2 separate regions of the Homo sapiens genome follow, and region 1 is linked to region 2. Evidence: promoter capture Hi-C in human tissues and cell types (Jung and others, 2019). All regions are on one chromosome and are shown on one strand. Each heading gives the region's core, a stretch centred on a gene start or on the middle of the fragment in contact. The rest is flanking DNA. Distances are from core to core; before and after follow the strand shown.

Region 1 (6,789 bases), core at 523-3,022, 600 kb before region 2:
TTTAAAAAAATTTACTGAAATTCTGCTCTGTTCTTTGTTTGTAATTTTCTTCCTTTTGCTTTAATAAAGCATATAAGGTTACAAATTTCCCATCTTCTGTTTCCATGATTTCCCCTCCTACTCCCCATCCCCTTCCTTCTCCTTTTTTTGATGGAGTCTTGCTCTTTCGCCCAGGCTGGAATGCACTGATGCGATCACGGTTCACTGCAGCCTCCGCCTCCAAGGTTCAAGCAACTCTTCTGCCTCAGCCTCCTGAGTAGCTGGGATTACAGGCATCTGCCACCATGCCCGGCTAATTTTTGTATTTTTAGTAGAGACGGGGTTTTGGTGTTTCACTATGTTGGCCAGGCTGGTCTTGAACTCCTGACCTCAAGTGATCTGCCCGTCTTGCCCTCCCAAAGTGCTGGGATTACAGGCATGAGCCACCATGCCTGGCTTGTTATCTGCTTCTAAGATTTCTTTTGAGAAGTCAGCTATTAATTTTTTTCTTTTTTTTCTCATTCCAAAGAAATGTGTTGTTTGTTTGGCTGATTTTAATATTTTCTTCTTGTCCTTGATTTTTAGAAAGCTGACATCGATGATGTATCTAGGTGTGATTTTCTTTATATTTATCTTGCTTGAAGTTTGCTGAATTTCTTGAATGTGTGGGTTGATGTCTTTCATCAGTTTGGAATGTTTTTAGTCATTATCTCTTTGAATATTGCTTCTCATTCTCTCTCCTCCCTGGTAATGCAATTATATATTGTTTAGACATTTTGAATATATCCCTTATTTCTCTTAATTTCTTAAAATCATTTTTTTCTTTTTAGTTTCTTTCCTTCAGTTTGGGTATTTTTCTATTGCATTGCTTTCCAGTTCACCAGTTTTATGTCCAATCTACTGTTAAAACTATTCATTGCATTCTTAATTTTGGATATTATGATTTTAGTTCTATAGTTTATTTAAAAAATAATTCTAATTCTTAATTGCAAATTGCCATTATTCTATTTATATTGCCTCTCATTTCCTCTATTTTCTTGAATATATTAATCATAATTATTTTAAAATAATTGTCTATTGTATCTAGAATTTGGGTCACTTGTGAACCTAATTCTGTTGTTTGCTTTTAAAAACATTAAAGCACATTGAGCCTATGGTCTTATCTTTTCACAGATCTAATAATTTCTTGTAAGCTGAATATTTTGTATAAAAGACTGTAGAGGTTCCAATGATGTTCTTTTCCACATGAAAGTGTTTTGTGTCTCCTCTCTAAGGCAGAGGAGGTTGATTCCCAAGGGCCAACCATTAGGGATTGGTGTAGTTTTGATCAGACTCAACCTACCTCTGTTCTCAGGGCTTTATCTGAGAGCTTGGAAAGTCTTTGCATCCTGAGTTCTGAATGATTGTGGGTGATTCAGCTTGGCCTTAGAGAAATTTAAGCTCAGCACTCACACTCCTGACCTCGTCACCTTCAGAATTTGGCAAAGGTCTTGATGGAGAGAATGCTTGGGTTGGATGCCCTACCCGCTAATTTTGTCCTTGACAAACACTAAAGTCTTTGCTTTGTTTTCTGTCTCCAGCAGCAGCAGCCTCTTGCCAGGGGCTGAGCCTTGATACCCACATTTGTCTGGTGCCCCCAAAAGAGTGGCTGCAGATCCTGGTGTCAATTCACAGGCTTTCATCTTGTGCTGGATTTCTTTTCAGGTTCCTTCCCTGGGAAGTTTTTTGTTTCCTAGTCACAAATATTGACAGAAATTTTACTTTGCCTTTCAGGAACTTTTAGCCTAGCTCTTTAGGCCTCCACTCCCCTGACTACTCAGCTAAAAAAAAAAAAAAAATCAAATGTCTTGTGGGTAAAATCAGCTATGCATTGCAGGGCCCTCACCTGAGATATGATTTGTCACCCTAGCCCTATGGCACCACTGAAAGCTTTTCTGGTTTTCCTTCCTCTAGCGGCGTCTTCTACCTGACCTAAATCTGATCACTGGGCTTCTATTTAACAGTACAGGAAGATGTTTCCAGGGAAAAACAGATGCCAACCATCATCTCCCTCTTACTGGCTTTTCTCTCTGAAAGTTTAGTTTATTTATTCTTTGTTGATTCCACATCTCTCCAATGCTTCGAAAATGATTTTTTATTCTTTTGTTTCTTAGTTCCTGAGATCAGGGGCATTGGCTGTTACCTACTACTTAGAAGTGGAAGTTTGGGGCACATGTTTTGACTTTCTTTTTCATAGTTTGTTGACTTGATTTGACATCAGTACACTCTGTACCCTATGGCAGGGAACCCCAAACCCCAGGCCAAGGACCAGTCTGGTATGGTCAGTGGTCTGTTAGGACCTGGGCCACACAGCAGGAGGTGAGAGGCAGGTGAGTAAGCGAAGCTTCGTCTGTCTTTATGGCCACTCCCCATTGGTCACATTCCCGCCTGAGCTCCTCCTGTCTGATCAGCAGCAGCATTGGATTCTCACAGGAGCTCGAACCCTATTGTGAACTGTGCATGCCGGGGATCTAGGCTGTGGACTCCTTATGAAAATCTAATGCCTGATGATCTGTCACTGCCTCCTATCACCCCCAGATGGGACCATCTAGTTGCAGAAAAACAAGCTCAGGGTTCCCACTGAATTCTACATTATGGTGAGTTGTCTAATTATTTCATTATATATTAAATGTAATAATAATATAAATAAAGTGCACAATAAATGTAATGTACTTGAATCATCCCGAAACCATCACCCCTGACCACAGTCCATGGAAAATTATCTTCCACGAAACTGGTCCCTGGTGCCAAAAAGGCTGGTGACTGCTGCCCTATGGAATCACTCGGGATTTAAAACTTTTACTTGTAAATGTTAAACGTTTTGCATCAGAGGCATCTTCAGTGGCCACAGGCTGGAACGTTTCCTCCTTAAGCTGAGTAGTCCTTAAAACAATGGAACCTGTGTAACTAACTTCATTGCAATTATAATGGAATTCTCAAACTTTGGGACACTTATAGCACAAATTTGGGGCATGATTTCTTAAAGATTCTCCATGCCATTGTAAAGTAATGGTGTGGCTAAAGTATCCCATCAGGGTCATGTCCTCATGTCCTTTGATTACTACAACTCCTGGCATTTAGGAGTTTTTTTTTTTCTTTTTTTTTTTTTAAGGCATGAAGGTGAAGGAGGGCTTCAACTGGGAGTTTTGAGCTTTTGGTGTGTGTAACTTACTAAGATTGGTGAGGGATTAAGTATTAGGCTAGGGAAGGAAGAGAGGGAGTCAGATGCAAGTCTTCCCAAGCTTTCTATGTTGATCCAATCAGTTTTCTTTTCCTTTAAGTTTTTTTCTCTCTTCAGGTGGATCATTGAGGCACCAGCATATGCCACTTTTGATTCTGGGTTCCACTGATAGACTGGATAAAGAAAATGTGGTACATATACACCATGGAATACTATGCAACCATAAAAAAGAATGAGATCATGTCCTTTGTAAGGACATGGTTGGAGCTGGAGGCCATTATCCTTAGCAAACTAACGCAGGAACAGAAAACCAAATACTGCATCTTCTCACTTATAAGTGGGAGCTAAATGATGAGAACACATGGACACATGGCAGGAACAACACACACTGGGGTCTAGCAGAGGAGGGCAGAGGGTGGGAGGAGGGAGAGGATCAGGACAAATAACTAATGGGAACTAGGCTTAATACCTAGGTAAGGAAATAATCTGTACAACAAACCCCCATGACATAAGTTTACCTACGTAACAAACCTGCACTTGTACCCCTGAACTTAACAGTTAAAAAAATTTAAAAAGGGTTTTTCTGTTTCAATTATACGTCAAGAAGAGCTGCTCTCATTACCTGTGTCACAGGCAAATGAAAGCTTTGTTTGATTACTTAAGTAATCCAGGAGAACATGTAACTCATCATTTTCAGGAAGGTGGTCAGTGAAGAGAAGAGGAAGAGAGTAGAAGCTTCTTTTAGGATGGAGGAGAAGAAGACAGTTGGAGTGGGACAAGTCCCATTTGATGGTGTGTGGTCGCTACAGCAGGTACAGTGAAGTGGCTCCTGTTTTGGAAATGAGGGAAGCTCCGATTCCCCTGAGAGAGTAGAAAAAGGTCAGGATGGGTGCTAATGGGATGCACTAGGTGGAGGGCAGCTGGGAAGCTACCTCTGTGCTTGCACAGTCTCCTCAGATGGGAATTATTTCTCTACTTCTGTCATATTTGTCTTGGTGTAACTGAACCCGCATCTTAAAATTCCCTGATTACCTCAGTTGGAAGTGAGTTCTCCTACATTTGCGCTCCTGAAACACGTGAGAATATTAGTTGTTCTGAATGAGCTGTTACTGTACTCACGGGTGGTACAGTTTAGAGAGGGTGACGTGTTTGTTATGAGTATGGGCTCTGGACCTAGCCTCCCTAGGCCCAAATCTCCGTTATCTGCTTTCACTCACTGGACCTAGGGCAAGTTAACTTTTCTCATCTGCAAAATGGACTAGATCTTGAAAGCAATGTCAGTGCATTTTGTGAGGATAAAACAAGTCACTGCATTTATTTGATTAATGTGTACAAAGCACTTTGAGTACACTGAGTACTCACTAATGCTAGCTGCTACATTTCCTACTAGTGTAATTGAACGAATACACACACTTAGAGTATATTACACTTTAAATAAACGTTATCGTATGTACTTGATTGTCACTATTTGGTGATAGAGACCCTGTCTTCCTTGCAGTGAAGGGCACCATAGTGGCTAAACTTAGAGTTACTTTAGAAAAACCAGGTGTTAGGGTGCCCCCAAGAGCATTGCCAGTGTGAGGGAACAGTATCAAAGAGGACTTCACAGATGACAGTTAAGGTTTCAGGTCCACATAGGTCTTAACTATAAATTGTGACAGCGTAAGGGCTGAAGGTCTGAGAGTGTGTGTGCTCACTAAGAGGCTAGGGGTTTCAAGTTTCCTGAAATAACTGCAAGAACTGCGCAACACAGAGAGAACCTACAGGGAAAGAAAGGAAGGGGCCGGGAGCTTGGACTCACAGTAAGGTCCTGGGATGGGGATTGAAAACCAAAAGCAACTGTGATGACACTCTGCTGCAGCTGGTGGGCAAAGCTGGGAAGAGCCGGAACCCTGGCTTCCTGTTCCACCTCCATAGGACCCATCCCTGCTGCTCCATGCCCTCTCTGAGGATCCACCAGTGCAAATGGTCATCTCAGCCTCCTAAGAGTCAGCCCTCTTGTGAATCCTCCTGCAGATACAAACAAGGCTGGGATGTTGCTTGCCCTTCAGTTGGGGGTTGTCTCAGGCAGAGGCCCTAAGGGATGGTGGTGACACCAGGCCAGACGGGAGAGCCTGGCTGTTTGCCTGAGAGTTCCAGCTTTGCCCCCAACAGCCATGAGACAGCTGTTCTCATGCCAAGAAAATGAATTTATACAGTGAAGTAAATCAAATTGTAAAGAACAATGTGATTAGAGAAAAAAAATCGTTTGTTATCTTGCAGTCCCCGGACATGATATATTCGTGGCCCAGGACCTTTTAAACAAAGAAATAATAAGAAACCATTTAGAAAAACAAATAAACTGGCAAATGTTTGTGAAATATTTATAAGATGCAGAGCCATTTTACATGCAAGAATTTATTAGCTAATTTTTTTTGTCTTGTGAAGGACTATTTTTGGAGACAATGAAATTGTTCTGGAAAAATACTTAAATTGGTAAGGATTAAAAACACACAAGAAAGCCAAGACTTTAATTACTATTATGATTTAGTTATATTTTTTGGGGAAAAATTATGCAAATCTATTTGTACTTTTAATCTTTTGTCAACATTTTCCCTATATTCATAAGTTATCCAACTTATCAAACAGAAAAAAGTCAGATGTATGAGGGGAAGAGATCTGGCTCAGCTAAAATTACTTGGTCTCTAACTCTGTGATGATGTGAGACCTTAGGAATCTCAGACTTGCTGTATTAGTGAGTAAGTAAAAATCCTGGGTTTTAGAACATTTAAAGGAAATGGTGTTTATTCTCCCTTATTCGTCTCACTTGGCAGTGGAATTATTGCAATTTCAGGGCAATGTACTTGAACAGTGATGTTGGCAAAAGGGAGTAAGAGTAGACAGGATAGTGAATGATTAGAAACCATTTTGCAGAGGGAGCAGTTGAAGGAATGGGGTTCTTTACACAGAGAGCAGAATACTGAGTGGGAAGCCATAGGCCAGCCCTCCAATGTATGATGGTTTCAATGTCCTCCTTCTTTCTCTGTCCTCTTCCCAGGAGGGGCGCTTGACCAGATGGGTGAGAGAGTGCAGAGCTTTGTGCATAGCAGTGCAGACAAGTCGTGCAATAGGGTGTGGTCAAAACGACCAAGAAACAGGATTGCGTGTCATGTGGGTGCTTCAGCTTGAGGAATCTGGAAATCCTAAAACATCCTTCAATTTTCCAGAGGACTTGAGATGTCTGTCCTTTTTGAGATGGACAGGTTCCCCTGAGAGCTGTCTCACGGTGGTCTACAAAGGGGGCACAGCAAGATGGACTTGGGAGTTTCTGTAGCTCTGCCGGCCAAACTCCAGCCAGGGGGAAGCCCATGGAAACTTGCTGGCAGTCCCAGCCTCTTAGAGTGATCCCCTGGGAGCCTCCCAGACTTTTTAAAGGGCGAGTTTGAGGAGAAGAAAGACATGTCGCTCCAAATTAGGCCACCAGTTTCTCTGCTAGTTCACTGCAACACTTTGTACATTTCCAGGTCATCTCTTACATACGCTGGAGATGTGTGATGGAGCTTGATGCTAATTAGCAGGCTAGATCTGTGATGTTTTTATTAAGTTGGGTC
Region 2 (7,163 bases), core at 177-2,676:
GCTGGTGGCAGGAGAAGGGAGGGCTCTTGTGCCTTGGATTCCTTGGGGTAAGGCTTTGGGGGAGGAGGTGGGATTTGGGGGCTCTTTGGGCCGGACCACACTCGAATAGGAGGAAACTTCCAGAAGGGTGGGTTCCTTTGGTGATAAGCAATGAAGCCCCTTCGGCCCCCAGGGCGAAGGCCAGCGGCCTCCGCTCCCACGCGTGTCGGGAGGGGACACTGTCCCTGGTGACATCCGCCCCCACAACGCTCCTGCCGGGTCTCTAGCGCCTCCTGCGTCCAGGCCCCCAAGGTGACAGGGAGGGAGCTACTCCCAGGGCCGACCCGCCCGCTCCCGCGCCCAGCCGCTCTCCCCGGCGCCCCTTTGCCGCCATCCCCGCTCAGCAGAGGGGCTCGGCGAGGACCACGACCAGCCACGGGGCAGCTCTGTAAACCTGTGATATGACAGGCTTATACGGCACCTCCAAAGTGTGACTGAAGCTGAGCGTGCAGGGCGCAACGGACGCTGCCCCCGCGAGGCCGTGGCGGGGGCTCCCAGTGCAGTCACTGCCGCTTCACTTCCACATGGTGCCGGTCTCCAGTTAGGTCCCCTGGCGTTTCCGCGCCCTGCCGCCCTCGCAGGGAGCCCCGGCCCTCTCAAGAGGGTGGAGAGGATGGGGGAGCCCTCAACCCTGCTACGCTGAGGGGAAGAAGGGCTGGACGGCAAACCGGTGCCCACCGCGGGGAGGCGGGAAGGGTGGGAAATCCTCTCCAGCTCCCCAAAAGAGTGAAAAGGAGGGAGACCCCGCTGTCCTCTGACCCGCGTACTAAAGGAGGGACCCCCCGGGTCCTCTGACCCCGGCTGCGCTCTGTGACTGTGGGGGAGGGTGGGAGCAGGCCCCGCAGCCCACTAAGGGGTGGAGGAAACAGGAGGGTGGCAGCGTCCCTGCCCGCTGACCTTGAGGTAGTGGAGAGGAGCTGAGGAGCCCCGCAGTGCTCCGAGCCAGGTGGGGCGGGGGGAGTGGTGGGGGTAGGACTCCCTCCCTCCACCCCTTAGGCTGTGTTCTCACTTCGTAGCGGGGAGGGCCGTCCCTCCCACCCCACCCACGCTGCACTCGGGATAGGGCAGAGGAGGTGGACGACCTGGTGGCTGAGTGTGGGAGGCCGGCGGGCGAGGACGACCCCGGGCCGGGGCGCAGCGGGAGCCCCTCAGTTCGCCACTCCCCCCACCGTACAGCCCCCGCCGTCCCCAGCCTGCAGCCGGGCCGTCGGGTGGGGGCCGACACCGCCCCTGCACGGAGGCCGGCTGCGCGCGGGGCGGGGAGCGGCGGGCGGAGGGCCCCGTGGAACCCGCCCCCTCCCGCGCGGTGGCGGTGGCGGCGGCGGCGCCGGGAGCTGCCCCCGAGGCCGCCGCCCGGCCCCCGCCCGCGCGTCAGCGCGCCCAGCCCGGGGCGCCGAGCTCCGCCCGCGCCGGAGGCCCCTGCGCGCAGCTCCGGGTGCCGGCAGCCGGGCCGGCCGAGGCGGCGCGGGGGTGGGACGCGGGCGGCCGCGGCGAGCGGCGCTGCCCGGGCCGGGCGCGCACGGCGGGCGCCCTGTGAGCGGCCCCGATGTGGCAGGAGGCGATGCGGCGCCGCCGCTACCTGCGGGACCGCTCCGAGGAGGCGGCGGGCGGCGGAGACGGGCTGCCGCGGTCCCGGGACTGGCTCTACGAGTCCTACTACTGCATGAGCCAGCAGCACCCGCTCATCGTCTTCCTGCTGCTCATCGTCATGGGCTCCTGCCTCGCCCTGCTCGCCGTCTTCTTCGCGCTCGGGCTGGTGAGTGGCCTCCCCGCGGGTCCAGCGCCGCGCCTTCCCCGGCCCTGAGAGGAGCCCGGCCAGCCGAGCCGCGTCCCGCTCCGGGCTGCCCCTCGGCCCGCGGCAGCCCCTCGGCCCGCGGCAGCCCCTCGGCCCGCGGCTCCCTGCTTCTCCTGCTGGCCCGCGGCCCGGTGGACTCTGGCAAGGGCTGCGGGCGGGAGAAAAGTTTCCTGGGAAGGCTCTTCCCAAAATAAAGTTCCCGAGGTGTTCACCAGGTGGACGGGCAGGGCGTGTGCTTTTTGCATCTTTGCGCACCCGCTGGCAAACTCTGCGCTTTCCGCCGGGCACCGCTGCCCGCAGCGCTGGAATAGGTCTTCCCCGACTCAGCCCTGGGCTTCCTGGGCGAGTCGCTGTCTCCTGCCCGGTTCCACTGGCATGGCCCCACAGTTGGCATTTTAGTTGGGATTGGGCGTTATTCAACTCTGCAGAAAGCCTGCCTTGGGAAAGTGGTTAATGACAAGGAAAATGAAGAAGAAAAATTAAGTATACATCTTTGCCTTTAAATCTGTATGCATTTAGCTCTTTAGCCCGATAGACGGAAAGTGATGTGGTGTTGACTTGTGAATCAATCTTTCATCTCAGAGACTACAGTTAAGAAGCGTTTGGGACGGACGATTGCTTTCCCGTTTCTAAAGAAGTAACGTGTTTAGGGTTTTGGACAGGTTATTAAAGTGGATTTCATCACGAGGAGTATAATGCAGCTCAACAGCTGATGTCAGTTTTGCCAGTTTATATTTTTCAAGCAGAAATCCTTGGCTCGCTCCCTTGAAAAGTGAGGGGAAGTCTGTAGATGGCGATAACTTCCTGTTACTGATCTCTGAGTGTGTGGTTCAAACTTTTGCACTGCCTGTGACATGCATGTGCAGATTTTGTGCGAGGCATTGATTATCCACCAGTGAGTTTTTTTTTTTTTTTTTTTTTTTTTTTTAGTCAGTGGTTGATCTGTGAATGTGTCCACTGGGTGATGTATTTTGAGCTTAGAATATAAATATGTGCCTATATTTATATGTGTCCACCACCAAAGAAGTGGATTTTGCTTATATTTCACCATGCATAAAATAGCTGTCCTTGGTATTTGGCAATTTGTTTAGGATGTCCGGAGCCAGATGGTGTTCAAATGTTATGCATGGGAAGAATTGTTACCATCATGTTTTTAAAAAATAAAAAAATTCCCCCACACCACTCAATGGTAGCTGTCTACTGATTGAGTTCAATGAGGTAAGAATAGAAATAGAATGTAGGAGGCCATGAAGTCACAGATCACACACTGGCTCTTGTACTATCAAACCTAGAGCAGAGAGTAACTTTTGATCCCTGTAGTCTAGATAGGAGTCCGGAGAAACCCTCACTCTCTCCACATGTAACCAGCCTTCTATGCTCTCTGGAATGGCATTTTTATCTCTCTTTACTACTTTTAGGAACAAAAAGGACTTGGGGAGAGACTTCTGCTCAGTCTCATGGGCAAGCAGGATCTCTAAAGTCATCTACTTATTATTTTTTACTTGCCAGGAAGAAAAGAAACATCAGAGTTTTCCTTTGGAAATCTGTTCTGCTGGGGCATTTCAGCTTGTGATTCTCTTGAACCTGTAATTCAAACCTGCTCTGGCTTGTTCTCTTCTAAATGGAAAGGAGCAGGTGATGACCTATTTATAGCAGCATTAATATATTTAAAGACAAGTGTGAAATTCATGCTTCCTCTGCACACACCACTTTGTTTTCTGTGATGGAGAATTCTAATTTCTTAAACCTCATTGATAGAGATTCTTGAATGGGTCACTCAGAGATTTAGCATTATTGGGCTTAAAGCACCCTTCTTTGAATTGTCTTTGTTCTTTGTATTTGTGTGTCTATATTCAATTCCTTTATGTTCCATTTTGCTTGGTGCATATGTGTTAGTGGTACCCTTTTCAAAGCGTTTTCCACGCATCTTTACTTTTCCTTGATAAATCAATCATTTTAATGCTCCTCTTGCCTTCAGCTAAATCATTTTAAGCACAAAGTGGGCATTTCCCACAGCATGGCTGTCACCTATGGTGAGGTCCAGAGACAGTGAAATGAATCCTGTCCTTGGCCATACCTAATTCATGGTCTCATGTCTACTATGTGCACCCTTCAAAGAGATAAGCTGTGCAGAAATGTTCCAGAATCAGGGAGGGTTACTCAGTCTGATAGAAAAGCCACCTTCAGGCAGAGACCAGCTGCAGGACCAAGTCGGAAGGAGCTATGCCTAGGAGAAATGTGCCCTGTGTTCTGAAACCGGACCTGAGTCGGGACTGGGATGATGTTGGGCTCCCAACAGCCTGTTTCTATTTTGATTTTAGAAACACCATAACCAGCATCTCTGCTTTCCAAAACACGTTCTCCATCCAGATAGTCAGCGATGGCTGGGGTAGGAACATTTGAAGGTAGAATAGGGCTAAGGTAAAGCTGTGTTCATGTAATTAGAGATGAGTTCATTTCTTGGGCTGGCAGGGCTTCGCTTCAGAGAGGTCTACCTTGGGAGGTGGGAATGGCTGCTTTGGGACCCTGCCAAGGTTTCCATGCTGGAGCACTTTACTTGAATAGCTGGGCTGTCATGCAATTCAGGAGCTAAGCAGATCTATTTTTGCTGCCTAAAATCTTGGACAGATTCCTTTTTTTCCCCCTGAATCTGCCTGATTTTGATTTCCATTAGACTTTCATCAGTTCTTATAGAAGTTTGGCAATCTGCTTAAAGCACATCCCTAGCCTCCTAGAGCATTTGGACTACAAAATGCTCTTAGCATAATGCAAGTACATAGAGATTTTTTTGCTGTATGTAATTGCCTTTGTAGAAGTGATTTGGAATACATACTAAAAAGAAAAAAGCAAGCTTCATTTTGATTTAATATTTCCCTAATTGATATTGTTCACAAAGTGATTTCATTTAATTTCAACCTTTGATCAATCCTTGATTCTGCATTGTTGGCCCTAAAGTTAAAGTAATCCTCAAAGTTTTATATGCTGTAAAAGTAAATTCTGAATTGAAACTTCACAGTCTTGGTTAATTTATTATTTTCTACATGAAAACTATTAAGTAGTTTTAATCCCATATTTGTGAAGAATTATTTGAAGACAGGAAACTCAGTAAATATAAAATTTGATGGCATGTCTTGAATTTAAATATTCTGTTTAATAATATGAGTAATAGTTTCTGCTGTTTATCATGGAGAGTATTCATGAAAAATCTGATTTATAATTTTTTCACCATCAGCTTGTTGAGTGCCTACCAAGTGCCAGGAATGGCAATAATGCTGGGCATGGGGAACAAAATAAAATTGACCCCTGGCATCAGAAAACTTAGAGCTAATGAAATGAAATTTTAAGTCATAAATCTTATCATGTCACTTGGTTTTTAATTTTTTTCTTTTTCTTTTTCTCATTTTTTTCTCTTTCTACTTTGTTTTTTGGAACTGGTTTTTATTACTGAATGCATGAAAACCCTTTTTCAGAATTTAATACTCTCATTTATTATATCCAAAATCAGCCAGCTGTTTTCAAAATTTGCCTGTCAGTGTTAAGAAAGGTTGACATAATTTTTTTTTATTTTGTCAGGATACCAGCTGGCTCCAGCCAGATTTGTTTTGGCTAAAACTTATGATTAGGAATAGTCAATATTTCAATATAAATGAAAAAATTTTATTCCATAATTTTAAGTAGTCAGAGAAATAAAGTAGATTTTTTTTAGTATGATACTGAAATAAGAGTATGCACTTTTATTAACTATAAATAGGTAATATATGTGACTGAGAATATGGCCCACCTTGTTTCTTTTATGGTGATGTAATGAGCTAGATATTTAAAACAATAACCAGAGGTATTTTTATGATGAATCAATGTTCCAGCATCAGATATTTTTTCGAAGGGCAGATTTATCAGAGAGGTTCTTTTGTGTGTACATAGAGAAAGAATCTTATTCTTCCAAAACAAATTAACATAGCTAATTATTTGTAGAGGCCAACCAACTTTATTATTCCAGACAATCTTTCAGCACCCCCAATAGGTGGAAGAATCACCTCCTTCCTTGGGGGTTGAAGGATGGGAGGGCAGACAAATGTGCCCAACATCCCCTCTAAGAAGCAGGAAATTCTGTGCATGCTTTCTCTAGTTTCCCTTGTGGAAGGGAATAGAGCATGTTCTCAGGTATTGCAGTAAAGGTAACTAAAGATTCATCTTTTTATGCATTTCTATACACGCAGGAAATCTTACTCTGCAGGTGCTTGTAATTTGCAACCAGTAATTCTCTAAGTCGTTTTAGTTATAATTTACTTGTGGTATAACAAAGGCCAAGGGAAAACTGTAATTTTCTGCAGGAAAGATGGTTGCAATTTAGAGGCCTAGCTAGAAAGGATTTGGAAGCATCCTTTGGATATTGAAATGTATGATTAAATATATACATGGCACCTTCCTTTCCCATTTTGAAAGGACAGTGGAGTGAAATGGTTGAGAGCATCTGCCTGTGTGGGAGTTGTGGCTTTGTCCATTTCCACTTCTGTGACCTTGGGAAAATTGTTTAACCTATGTCTCAGTTTCCTTGTTTGTAAAATGGCATGGTACCTGCCTTGTAAGCTGATGTCCTCAATTAGTACATGCAAAGCCCTTAGAACAATGCCTGGCATAAAGTAAGCCTCCAGGACTGTTAGCTGTTCCTAGGTCTTTGTAGCTGCATTTTCACTGTTACTGTGAGGGAATACTGTAGTCACATTGCATTAGAGCCAGAAAGGTGCTCATTCTACAGATGATGAAACTGAGACCCGGAGAAGTGAACTCATCTCTTCAAGGTCATGCAACTGCTACGCTGTCACAGGGTCACAGGGCATTTGACTTTCCCTGGGTGACTTTGCTAGAGAAGATTGAAGGTCTAGAATTCCCAGCGCTGGTCTTGGAAAATAGCAAGTTTTCTTGTTGAAATTTCTTACTGATATGAACAGCCTCAATCTTCATTCTGTGTAATGGAGTTACCTTTTAATGTTTTTCTCTTCCAGAGTTAAAGGAATTCAGTAGAGATGCTTCCTCATAATTAATTCACTGACGTGCTGGCATTATTTATTTTCATTATGCTAAATGTCCCCAGTGTCTTCCCCATCAAGTGGAGCCTCAAATGTGGCTGTGCTTTTGTTGTCTGAGAAGTCCTGGCATATGCACCATGGGTGTGAGAATCATTCCTATTAAGCCGTGATTCTTACTGATAATTTAAAACCGAATATTCTACTAAAAATGGAACAACACTGTTAGAGCTGCGATATTCCTGTGTTGAAGGTGTTTTGTGTGTGATATATTTCATGAGAAATTGTCAGTGACAGGAGAGTCT

The links. Contacts are between HindIII fragments. The study calls those that stand out against the background at their distance.
Region 1: a contact is called between a fragment that was not itself captured here and the fragment with the promoter of ADCY2 in region 2, in 2 of the 25 tissues and cell types used here (dorsolateral prefrontal cortex and hippocampus).

The regions. Positions count from the first base shown.
Region 1 is chr5:6,799,056-6,805,844 of GRCh38, forward strand. All of the region lies in intron 1 of LINC02236 (long intergenic non-protein coding RNA 2236), which reads left to right. Among named protein-coding and RNA genes, the nearest start is that of LINC02236, 6.6 kb to the left of the region's middle. RefSeq lists an enhancer at 4,712-5,212. The HindIII fragment of the contact is 3,558 bases long and covers 1-3,551 here.
Region 2 is chr5:7,394,712-7,401,874 of GRCh38, forward strand. It overlaps ADCY2 (adenylate cyclase 2), which reads left to right and starts at 1,427. Exons shown (of 25, transcript NM_020546.3): 1 at 1,427-1,795. The coding sequence starts at 1,586. LOC107986403 (a long non-coding RNA gene) reads right to left here and starts at 1,238. Exons shown (of 2, transcript XR_001742597.2): 1 at 1-1,238. RefSeq lists enhancers at 1-742, 743-1,508. The HindIII fragment of the contact is 8,449 bases long and covers 1-6,336 here.